Regions from separate parts of the Homo sapiens genome. Here region 2 is linked to region 1. Evidence: promoter capture Hi-C in 16 types of primary human blood cells and fetal thymus (Javierre and others, 2016). All regions are on one chromosome and are shown on one strand. The core of a region is centred on a gene start or on the middle of the fragment in contact, and the rest is flanking DNA. Distances in the headings are between cores, read along the strand shown. Region 1 holds the start of SFT2D1 (SFT2 domain containing 1). Region 2 holds the start of AGPAT4 (1-acylglycerol-3-phosphate O-acyltransferase 4).

Region 1 (5,097 bases), core at 2,213-4,712:
CCCCATTCAGGTCTGTGCGCCTTTAATCCCATCTCATCTCCTACCCATCTCCAAAAACCAACAGCAAACCTCCCTATGTCCTCACCCTCTTCTCTGATGATCCTCTCACCTTCCGGCTAGGTTTGAAATTTAGTCTCCAGGACCAGGGCTCTCCCCTGTGAATCCTGTACCACTTGGACAGGCAGTGAGCTAGGTGTCTGCCCTCCTCACTGCCACTTCCTGCCCCTTCCTCCTCCCTAGAGAAACCTGCTTTCCAAGTCACTCCTCAATAGCCCCCTAGCAACAATTCCCTCTTGCCTGCACCATAATTTTCCCCTTTCCTGGACCATTCCCAATGCACAGAAACATCCAGTATTTTCCTTGGGAAAATGACATGTTCCCCGACCCCACTGCATCCTTCAACTACCACCCACTTCTTTGCTCCACAGGAAAAATCACTGAGATGGCCATACCATCTCCATCTTCTTTCTATTCTCCCCTGACTTCAATCAGGCCTCTGACCCCATCCAGCCACCAAGACTGCTCTCGTGGAAGTGACAACTGATAACCTCCACGGGTAATCTGCTCTTAACTTCTGAGACCCATCAACAGTACTGGGTCCCATCCCCTTCCTAAAGCACTCTCTTCCCTCACTTTCTGGGGCATCCTTCTCTCTTGGTTCTCCTCCTCCTTCTCTCGCCACGCCTCTCAGCTGTCTTTGCCGGCTTCTGCTCATCCTCTAAACTTCTACACACCTAGAGAAAACCAGAGGTCAAACCTTGGACCTCATCTTGACGATCTCATCTCTCTCCTATTTCCTCCCACAAACTCTACAGTGTTACGTCCAACTGCTTTCCTCACATCTCCACTTGGATGCTACCTGGATCTCAGACTTCACGTCCACACTGAAATGATTTTCCTCCCTGAACCTGCTCCTCCCACAGTCACTTAATGGCAACTCCACCTCTCCAGATGCTCAGGTCGAATGCCATGAGGCATCCTTGCCTCCTCCCACTCTCACACATCCAATCCGTCAACAGTGTGGCCTGCTGGCTGTACACTCAGACCATTTACAGAATCTGACCACTTTTTTGTTTTTTAAACAGGCTTTTTTGCTCTTTAAACCACTTCTATCACTGATTTGAGCCACAGTCATCTCTTGCCAGGACAACTGTACTTGTCTCCAGCCCAGTCTCTGGGCTTCTAACATTGCCTCTACAGTTTGTTCTCCACAGAGCTGCCAGAGTGATCCTTTAAAATCCAAGTCGGTCACACCACCACTCTGCTCTAAACCCAAAGGCTTCCTATCACACTCAGAGTAAAGCTAAAATCCTTTCTATGGCCTATGAGAACCCTCACAATTGAGAATCCCCCTTCCTGCTTCACCTTTTCTTCTACAATTGTCCCTCTTCTCTGCCCCGCTGCTAGAGCCCCTCTGGCCTCCTTACTGGCCCTGAACATGCTGACCACACACCACTTGGGACTCTGTATCTGCCTTGGAGGCTTTTATTCACAGGATGCTCAGACATCCCAGCAGCTCTTCTGAGCTGTGCTCACATGACTCCCTGGCAGGGAGGCCTTATCTAAGTAATATGGCAACCCCAACCTCCTCAACCTGCTCTGACTTTTTCTGTGGCTGTCTGACACATTATATACTTGTTTATTCACTGTTTCCTCCAATTAAAATTTAAGTTCCATGTGAAAGAGGTATTTGCACTGGTCACTGTTATTAACACCTGCATCTTGAACAATGTCAAACATATGCAGGAACTTGAATATTTGTTAATGAACGATCACCTCCTCTGAACTCACAGCACTTGTCTATACAGCCAGTCACTCTAATCTTTGATTGATTACTTCTCCACATATCTTTCTCCCCTCTAGACAGTGGGCTCAAGATAAGTGATATTACCTTTGCATCTCCAAAGTTTAGAGTAGCACTGTCCAATAGAACTTTCTGCAATGCAAATGTTCTGTATCTGCGCTGTTTAATACAGTAGCCTTTAACCACATGTGCCTACTGAACATGTGAAATGTGGTTGCTGTGACTAAGGAACTGAATGTTAAATTTTATTTAATTTTAATTAATTTAAATTTAATTGCTCCAGGCGCAGTGGCTCAAGCCTGTCATCCAAGCACTTTGGGAGGTCAAGGTGGGCGGATCACTTGAGGTCAGGAGTTCGAGACCAGCCTGACCAACATGGTGAAACCCCCATCTCTACTAAAAACACAAAATAATTAGCAGGGCATGGTGGCAGGTGCCTGTAATCCCAGCTACTCAGGAGGCTGAGGCAGGAGAATTGCTTGAACCCGGGAGGCAGAGGTTGCAGCGAGTCGAGATCACGCCACTGCACTCCAGGCCTGAGCGACAAAGCAAGACTCCATCTAAAAAAAAAAAAAAAAAAAATTCATTGGCCACATGTGGCTGTGGTAATATACAGAGTTACAGAGTGCAATGAGAACAGATACTTGTCTTACACTCTCTGAACCCAAAACTGTAGCCCAGAACTCTACCCACACCAAGTGCTGAGTAAGTATAATGACAAGGAAGTCAGGAGAGACAAATAGAAGATCCTTATGAAATACAATTCAATTTTAAACGTCCAACTTCTGCGACAGCACACAATAACGTGCAATATAATCGCATGCAATAACAAAAAAACTTACACCGCAGTTCCTGCTCCACTGCTACTTTTAACCTTCTTGCTGGAGGAAGTAACCCTTATCAAGTCTCGCTGGTAAGGCGCAGACACAAGGGCTTTTATTAAGAAAAAAAAAAAAATCTCTTACCAGGGCTCACTGCCTTAACAGAAAAATTTTAATTCAATATTATTTCACTTACCAATGTCCTGTTTATTTTTCCTCCAGTCTCCCTATTTCCAAAAGACCACCCCCCAGCAAACACACACATAACACCACCTTTACCTCCAAAGACAAACAGATGCAACAAGCTTTAGGGTCTCGGCTCACTGCAGCTTGCAGGATAAATGCCCTGCATAGCTACTTACGCTGCACAGCCCGAGGCCAGACCCCGCACCAGGCTCAGAAAACCAAATAGTACGTGGGAGCGATGGATTATTTGGGAAAGCGAGGGCAGACGTTAGCGGATTCCTAAGTCAGAAGGCCAGATGGGAGAGTCGGGGGGGGGCCTCAAAGTGGGTTTAAGTAGACCGCATGGAAAACTGGAAAGTTCTCAAATTCTACCCAGGAAGCAGGCGGAGCCCTCCTAAATCAACCAGCCGGGCAGAGGAGTCCCAGACCCCCGGCCTCGCACCCACCCCACCCGCTCGGCCGGTCCTCAGTGCGGCCGGGGCCAGCGGGCAGCCCCGGGACTGGACGAGGGCGCAAGTTCGCTACCTGCGCAGTCAGGCCCTGCTCCTCGTCGTCCTGGCCGCTCAGGACTCGCCGCAGCTTCTCCATGGCCCTGTTACAGGGCCGTAGCGGCCGCCACTCTGTTGCCTGCCCCTGACGCCCACCAGGAAACCCCGAACCCGAAACCCCACAGACCAGCCGGAAGTCCGGTCCCGCCCGCTTCCTGTGCGTCAGCGCGGCCGCCGTAGCAATGCGCGCATGCTCACCAGCCTTTCTCTCGGACCCGGTAGTGGTCCGTGAAGTCCGCGGAGTGGGCGCTGATGGTGGGGCTATCCCTTCCCACTGTCCGCGAGGTGCGCCGTGGTAACGCGCGGGGACACAGCGCGGGTGTGGACCCCCTGCCCACAGCTGGCGCACAGCCATTGAGTGTAGACCCGACTGGGGCACGACCACTGAACCCTGCACTTGGCGTCCTCCGGGCCCCGCGAGGGGCCTTGCTGGGCGGGTCCGCGGCACCCCGGGTTCCCAGAAGTCGAGGCCCCGAATGCGCCTCCCCTCGCCTGGAATCGGAGAGCGGAGGGCTCCTGCGGGCAGGTGGCCGTGCTCCGAAGAGCGCCCTGCCACCCATGAGGTGGCCCTGGGGGCGTCGCTAGCCTTCCCAGCTGGGTGTCCTCATCCGGAGACACAAACACCTGCCTCAGGATTAAAGCGAGGAGCTGTATTTCAGACCGTCTCAGGAGAAATAGCAAGAGGCTGCCTCACTCCTTTGCCCTTGTGAGAGCTATTTCTTTACTCAGTTCACTGGTCAGCTAGGAGTTTGAAAGAGTGAAATCTTATTTATAAAAGGAATAGCTAATGCAACCCATTTTTCCAGTTTTGTGTGAACAGTGAAACCATTGAACAAGCGTTTACTGTTCTCCGGCTCGTGCTGGATGAACAAACACTAAGAAATGGGGAAGTGGCATTTTTCTCTCTCTCATTTTCCACCATGCTAAGAAAGGAGATTAAAAATCAGGGCTGCCTGTCTAATATGGTCTCCAGAAGTCATTAAGTGATAGGTTTTGCTCTTCTGTTTGCTTCTAGGCTTGGTAAGATGGTAATGAGAATGCCTGTTCTTTTGATTACTTTGCCCACTCCATTTCCTCCCTAAAATCTTTCAGTTAAAAGGTGGATCCTCAAAAAGTTTCATTGTCCATCCTACTGCCTCAGTAGAGATTTTATCTAAACTCAATTAGATAAAAACAAATACCACAGGAACCCTAGGAAAGCAAGTCGCGCCTTCTTGTGATGAAACGGTCCAATGCTCAGCATCCTTTTCCTTTAGGCAGAAGATATTTCTATGTGGCCTGTTCATACTAATATGAGAAGTCTTATCCTTATGTCCTTAACTTTAAAAGGTCAGAAAATAGATTGTAAAATCTATAGAATAAAACTATGTTTCTGTTGAATAAGAGAGTATGTCCGTAAGTGTTACGGGAAAGGGGTCCGGATCCATACCCCAAAAGAGGGTTCTTGGATCTTGCGCAAAAAGAATTCAGGGCAAGTGAAAACAAGTTTATTTAAAAAGTAGAGGAACATCGGTAGTCTGAGGCAGAGAATTGCTTGAACCCGGGAGGCGGAGCTTGCAGTGAGCCGAGATCGCGCCCCTGCACTCCAGCCTGGGCGACAGAGCGAGACTCCGTCTCAAAAAAAAAAAAAAAAAGTAGAAGGACAAAAGAATAGCTACTCCATAGGCAGAGCAGGGCTGTCTATTACCAGGGCTGCTGGTTGCCCATTTTTATGGTTATTTCTTGATGATATGCTAAA
Region 2 (5,398 bases), core at 2,641-5,140, 5.1 Mb before region 1:
CAGTTGCATCTGTGGGACCTGACACCTATTAAACACGTAATAAACAGCTGTTGAAGAAAGAGTTCATGCTTTAAGCTTCCTCTTTCCTACAGCCTGGCAGCCACTGCAGACCTTCCCAAGCCCATGCATGAAGCCAGGTTTCAGAGTTCCAGCGCTTCCTTTCCAAACTGATTCTCACACAAAGAATAATGAATTTGAGTTGCCCAAGCTCTAGGAAATGTTACATGATTATTATGATTATATTTCAAAATAGGAGTGATGAAAGGCGTTTCACCAAAGATTTAGAGGTCAAACACCATTCAGAAATGTGAATGTGGGCCAGGCACGGTGGCTCACGCCTGTAATCCCAGCATTCTGGGAGGCCAAGGCAGGTGCATCACCTGAGGTCAGGAGTTCGAGACCAGCCTGGCCAATACAGTGAAATTCTATCTCTACTAAAAATACAAAAAAATAAAAAATAAATTAGCTGGGCGTGGTGCCACATGCTTGTGATCCCAGCTACTCGGGAGGCTGAGGCAGGAGAATCGCTTGAATCCAGGAGGGGGAGGTTGTGGTGAGCCGAGATCACGCCATTGCACTCCAGCCTGGGCGACAGAGCAAGACTTCATCTCAAAAAAAAAATAAATGTGAATGCGGCTTTGTCCCATAACCATCAGACCTCCTTTCCAGAATAAAGGAGACTGCACAAAACGTGTGACATTTACCAAACCCTCATTTGAGCATCCAATAATTTAAAACAATGGCAATGGCAGGAATTATGAAGATGACATTCCGGGTAAGTTCCTGGTTGCGTCTTCCCCAGTTTCATACCTGTTTAAAGTCTAGTGTAAGTCTGGCCTTTCGTTGTTAAGCTGAAGCTAAAAAAGTATTGGATTAGGAAGGATTCTGCCTTCTGTTCAGTCTTCTAACAGTCCTTCTTTTTCTGATTAAGAAAAACTTCTGTCCCCAATTTACATCTACTTATGCTTTCAACCAGCACAGAGTATACCTGCTCTACTTCTATACTAAAGACTGACTTCTCCCTTCTTGGAGTTAAGAACCCTGAACCATGATCCATTTCTTACCATCCACCTTTGCTATCTAAGACACCCTCTCCTTCTTCCCTTGAACCGTCTGCCTCCTCTCCTATAAAGCTTCAGCAGCAGGATGAAGACTCTCTAGTATTCTTCTCATACTAATTGCGTCTCCTTGACTGGCTGTTGCCTCCCCCTTCCTTCCAGCTGGGTGCTCTGCTCTTCTTTTCGCCACCCGTTTGGTGGATTTTAAGCTTGAGAGCACAGACTACAACTGCTGCCTTCTTCACCAACTTCACAGCAGAGCCTTGCAGACAGTAAAATCCCAATAAAATGACGGCTGACTCACCCTCTGGGTGTCACCTCTGTCAGCCTCTTCCATGGGACCCTACGTTTACTTTATACTCACAGCTCCACTTACCTTCCCTAGGCCAAAGCTGCTAACTGCTTTAACCTCTACTCAGCATCTGAATATCAGACAGTGTTTTGTTTGTTTATTGGGTTTGGGTTTTTTGTTGTTTTTGTTTTGGCTGTGCTTCTGAGGAAGTCTTGCTCTTTTTCCTTTCAGTTCTATTCCATTAGGCTTTTTGCTGTGAAATTTTGAATCTGGAAACTCAAGAGAACCGACATCGCAGACTTTGATTTACATGCTGTCAATCTGCTTTGGAAGGTCATGTGGCAAATCTGCCCTTGAGGACCATTTTCAGACAGGAAAAACAGTAATTTCAGCCTGGCTGCTTTTCAGAATTCTTTGCAAACATCAGATGCTCACAATCCAACCGTTTCTCTGTGTACTAACATGTGCTTTTCAAAATGAGTGTCATATTCTTTTTAGTAATACTTTTCTGTGTGTTATGCCCTTTAAATAGTTCTCGTCTTTAACTCCATGTGGCTCTGGTTTGTTTTGTGCCATGCTATTTTGCCCCATTTTCAGGTAACTTTTCTACCTGAATTACTTAGGACCTCTGGATTTATAGCAGATTTGATAAGACATAGATGATAGCATATTTAGATAAGGATCACAGCAAACAGAACCTCACTGAAACCACCCATTCTTCCTGCTTCCACATGGCAGGGTTGCTCAAGGTTTATAAGTAATGATTTTGGCTTTAGCAGCCGGAAGGTATGAGGGCTAAGTGACCTTCACACATGTTTATCTTAAATTATAGATAATTTTAAGAGTCATGAATGGGATTACTACTTATCTATTTTATAAAAGCTAATTATTTGGGATGCCCATCAGAAGAATGGTATCCCTTATCAAACGCTTCCTTAGACGTACTGAATAAAAGCATCAGTTTAGCCGGTACCTGTTAAGAGGCTATGTCTTTCTAAGAGATGTGTTATTTGATTCTAATTATAATTAACTTTGCTTATTACTAAGTAGATAATAATTTTCTCATTTCATATTTTTTCTGAATAACAGTTTTTCTCCCCATAGAGAATATTCAGAAGATGGAATCCTTTTAACGTAGAACTCAAGATGTGCCCTGTTCTCCCTGCCCGCCTCCCATTTCCCTAAACACACACACACACACACACACACACAAACACACACATTCTCCCTTCTCTCAAGATACTTTTTTTCCAACTGAGAGTCGTTGACTAATCACAGATGAGTTAATCCTTCCACAGTTTTGAAAAAGTCTAGCAACCCTCACCTTGAAGAGAGTGAATAGCGTGGCTAATCCATCTAAGAACAATGCACGAAAACGAAAAACGGAGAATCCTGCCCGGCAGTTAATTTGTTACTCATACTTGTTGAACTTAAGATTTGGAGCTAAATAAGTGCAGATGAGAGCAAAGACCCATCTTTTAAATATTTAAGCTTTTAGGCAAACCTGGGCAGGCAATATCACATTTATCAGTGCGAATTCTCCAATGCTCTCTAAAACTTTATTTCAATGATCTCACCTCCTGTAAGGAATTAATTCCCCCTTAGCTTGACCACAGGATCAATATCTTATCTTAAGAAGTGTTTAGGTTTTCTAAAAAAAGACCAGACACTGAAGACTTACATAAACATCAAAGCATTCTTTTTTTAATTCCTCGATATGGAGAAATTCATAGGCCGAAAATTAGGTAAATAGAGAGGTAATTACCAATGCCTGTTTCCTTGACAACTCCCCTCCCCCACCCCTCCTGTGATAGGGAAAAACCAAAATGAAAGTGAGGAGGGGTAGCCACAAGCCATGCTGGATTTTAGCAAACCAAAGCAAGAAGCAGAGCAGAAAGCTGCAAACTAGACACAAAATACAAATAAATCAATGTATATCGGGGCTGCATATTGTGTAGTATTTTTGTGGTTGCCATAGAAACGTCAGCGACGGAAGAACATGTTGCATGACACAAAAGAGAGCAATATGTAATAGGAACATTCCCCCCACCACCACCCCCCGCCCAGCTTCGTCTATAGCAGAGAAAATGCTTTAGCCCCGGGAGGGGGCTGGGTGGGTGGGTAAATGAAGCCAGGAACAGCAGCTTGAAATCACAGCCCAGAAAGGGACGCTCACCCGGCCCAGCACAAAGCGAGGGTCCTTTTGTACCAGCAGAGCCTCTCTTCGCCTCCCTCCAGGCGCCCCCTGCACCTTTCCCCCGCCCGCCTTGCACTCCCCCCCCGCCCCCGGAGCCTACCCCTTCCAGAGGTCCTAAGGAAATCCAGCCCAGGAGAGAAAAATATGCTGGGAAGAGGAATGCAAACATCAGCCACACCCAGCGGGGAAGGTGCCTGCGAACGGCACCAGGACCACATACCTCCTTCCTGGCAGCCTTTGGCACATGGACTTAGAAACCAGAAGCTGAGATGGAGCCGGCTGGGTTCAGAAATTGCCACTAGTTTATAAGAGCTGTAAGTCAGCCAACACTGGAAAGAAAAAGCGAGACTCCACCCATGGGGTGGACCCTTCAGGAAGAAAAAAAAAAAAAAAGTGGTCCTCAGCTGACGTCTCTCCCCACCCATGTCACTTCCTTTTAAAGCTACAAGTTAGCAGTTGCCGAGAGGGAAGAGCGAGCTGGTGTAATATGAGTCACTCCCTTCCCCTTCCAATTAGTGTAAGGCAGTGCTTCAGTTGGCTTCACGTTTGAAATCGCTTTTGAAATCTGGCTCGGGAAGCTGCCAGGATAAAAAAAAAATGAAAGCCCCCTGGAAGTGGCCTTGCTTTCTCTCCCCTTTCTCCCAAATCCTGTTGCATCCCTGCGCCCTAACGGCTCCTCTAACCTCAACCCAGACTCCGGCTCCGTCTGTGTTGCAACCTGGAAATTGTCCTCAGTTGGCTCATTTTTAATTCAGCAAGCGTAGGATCAATATGCCCACCCTCAAAACTCTCCCCTCACCTCTCCTCGGTCCGCTGTGCTGGAAGGAGATTGCGTTGCACTCAGAAGAGTCCAAATCATCTTAAACAAAATAAGCCTCAGCACTCAAGAGATTGAGATGTTATGAAGTGGGATGAAAGAAGCTTGGAGGTCGATTGATGTATTTTCTGTTTTCAAACCTTAGCACCATGGTTGATTACCACTGCACAGGCGTGCACACACGTACTGTCGCATGCTCACATGCACGTGGCATTTACACAGGTGTATCAGAGAGGGTCTGGGCAGACCTTTATAGTAAAAGTGTCTTCACAATTTTTAAAAAGGGTGGGCTGTTGAAAGTCCAGAAATGCCAGGATCTAGAAAATTATTTCAATTTCAAAATACTGAGGTGTATTCCTTTCAAATGTCCACTATTACAGCCATTGTCAAAATAATATTTAACTATTTACTTGACTCCTGGGTTAACCTTGTTCTTTAGATGTTTATAATCTATAAAGGAAAAATACATGTGCTCACAAATAGCCCAAGCACATTGCAGAATTACTAACAGCTATGCAAGTGTCAAAACCAGTGTGTCATGAAGACAGAATAGAAAGTGCTTTTTTGATTGCGATGGGGGAAGGCATTGATCATTCAGGAAACAGGGTTTGGAGTGGGTCCTATGGGAGGTGGCATTTTTCTTGTCTGTGATGAGAGACGGGGAGAGTGAAGCAGAATGTGGTGGAAGAGAAAGGATATGTGAGGCAAACAAAAAAAGGATCAGAACAGAAACCCATTTGTAGCAATAACTTGTTTTAATATCCATGTGAAAATAAATTTGACCACAGAGTAATGCTTATAAAAGATTTTTATAAAAAGTTCCTTGTAGTCATCATCTCTCGTAACTTTTCGAACTATGTTTTACGACCCATGTGCTTCTAGATTTGGTGGAAACTTGAGTTTTTCAAAGTGTTTTTCAAGTAGAGTTACACTGTTTTTCACGGTTGAATTCTGAATGGTAATTTATTTCAAAACCTACAAATTGCATAAATTCCTGATAATGTTATAAGTACAGTCAGTGATTTCAGTGGAAA

The links. The method cuts DNA at HindIII sites, captures the fragments that hold promoters and counts their contacts. A CHiCAGO score of 5 or more calls a contact.
Region 2: a contact is called between the fragment with the promoter of AGPAT4 here and the fragment with the promoter of SFT2D1 in region 1, in 1 of 17 cell types (M0 macrophages). The highest score is 5.2, in M0 macrophages.

What each region holds. Positions count from the first base shown.
Region 1 is chr6:166,339,083-166,344,179 of GRCh38, forward strand. It overlaps SFT2D1 (SFT2 domain containing 1), which reads right to left and starts at 3,463. Exons shown (of 8, transcript NM_145169.3): 1 at 3,337-3,463. The coding sequence starts at 3,399. LOC100289495 (a long non-coding RNA gene) reads left to right here and starts at 3,549. Exons shown (of 2, transcript NR_040022.1): 1 at 3,549-4,065. RefSeq lists a silencer at 3,174-3,333 and an enhancer at 3,395-4,288. The HindIII fragment of the contact is 4,850 bases long and covers 2,929-5,097 here.
Region 2 is chr6:161,270,171-161,275,568 of GRCh38, forward strand. AGPAT4 (1-acylglycerol-3-phosphate O-acyltransferase 4) reads right to left here and starts at 3,891. Exons shown (of 9, transcript NM_020133.3): 1 at 3,768-3,891. The HindIII fragment of the contact is 1,627 bases long and covers 2,840-4,466 here.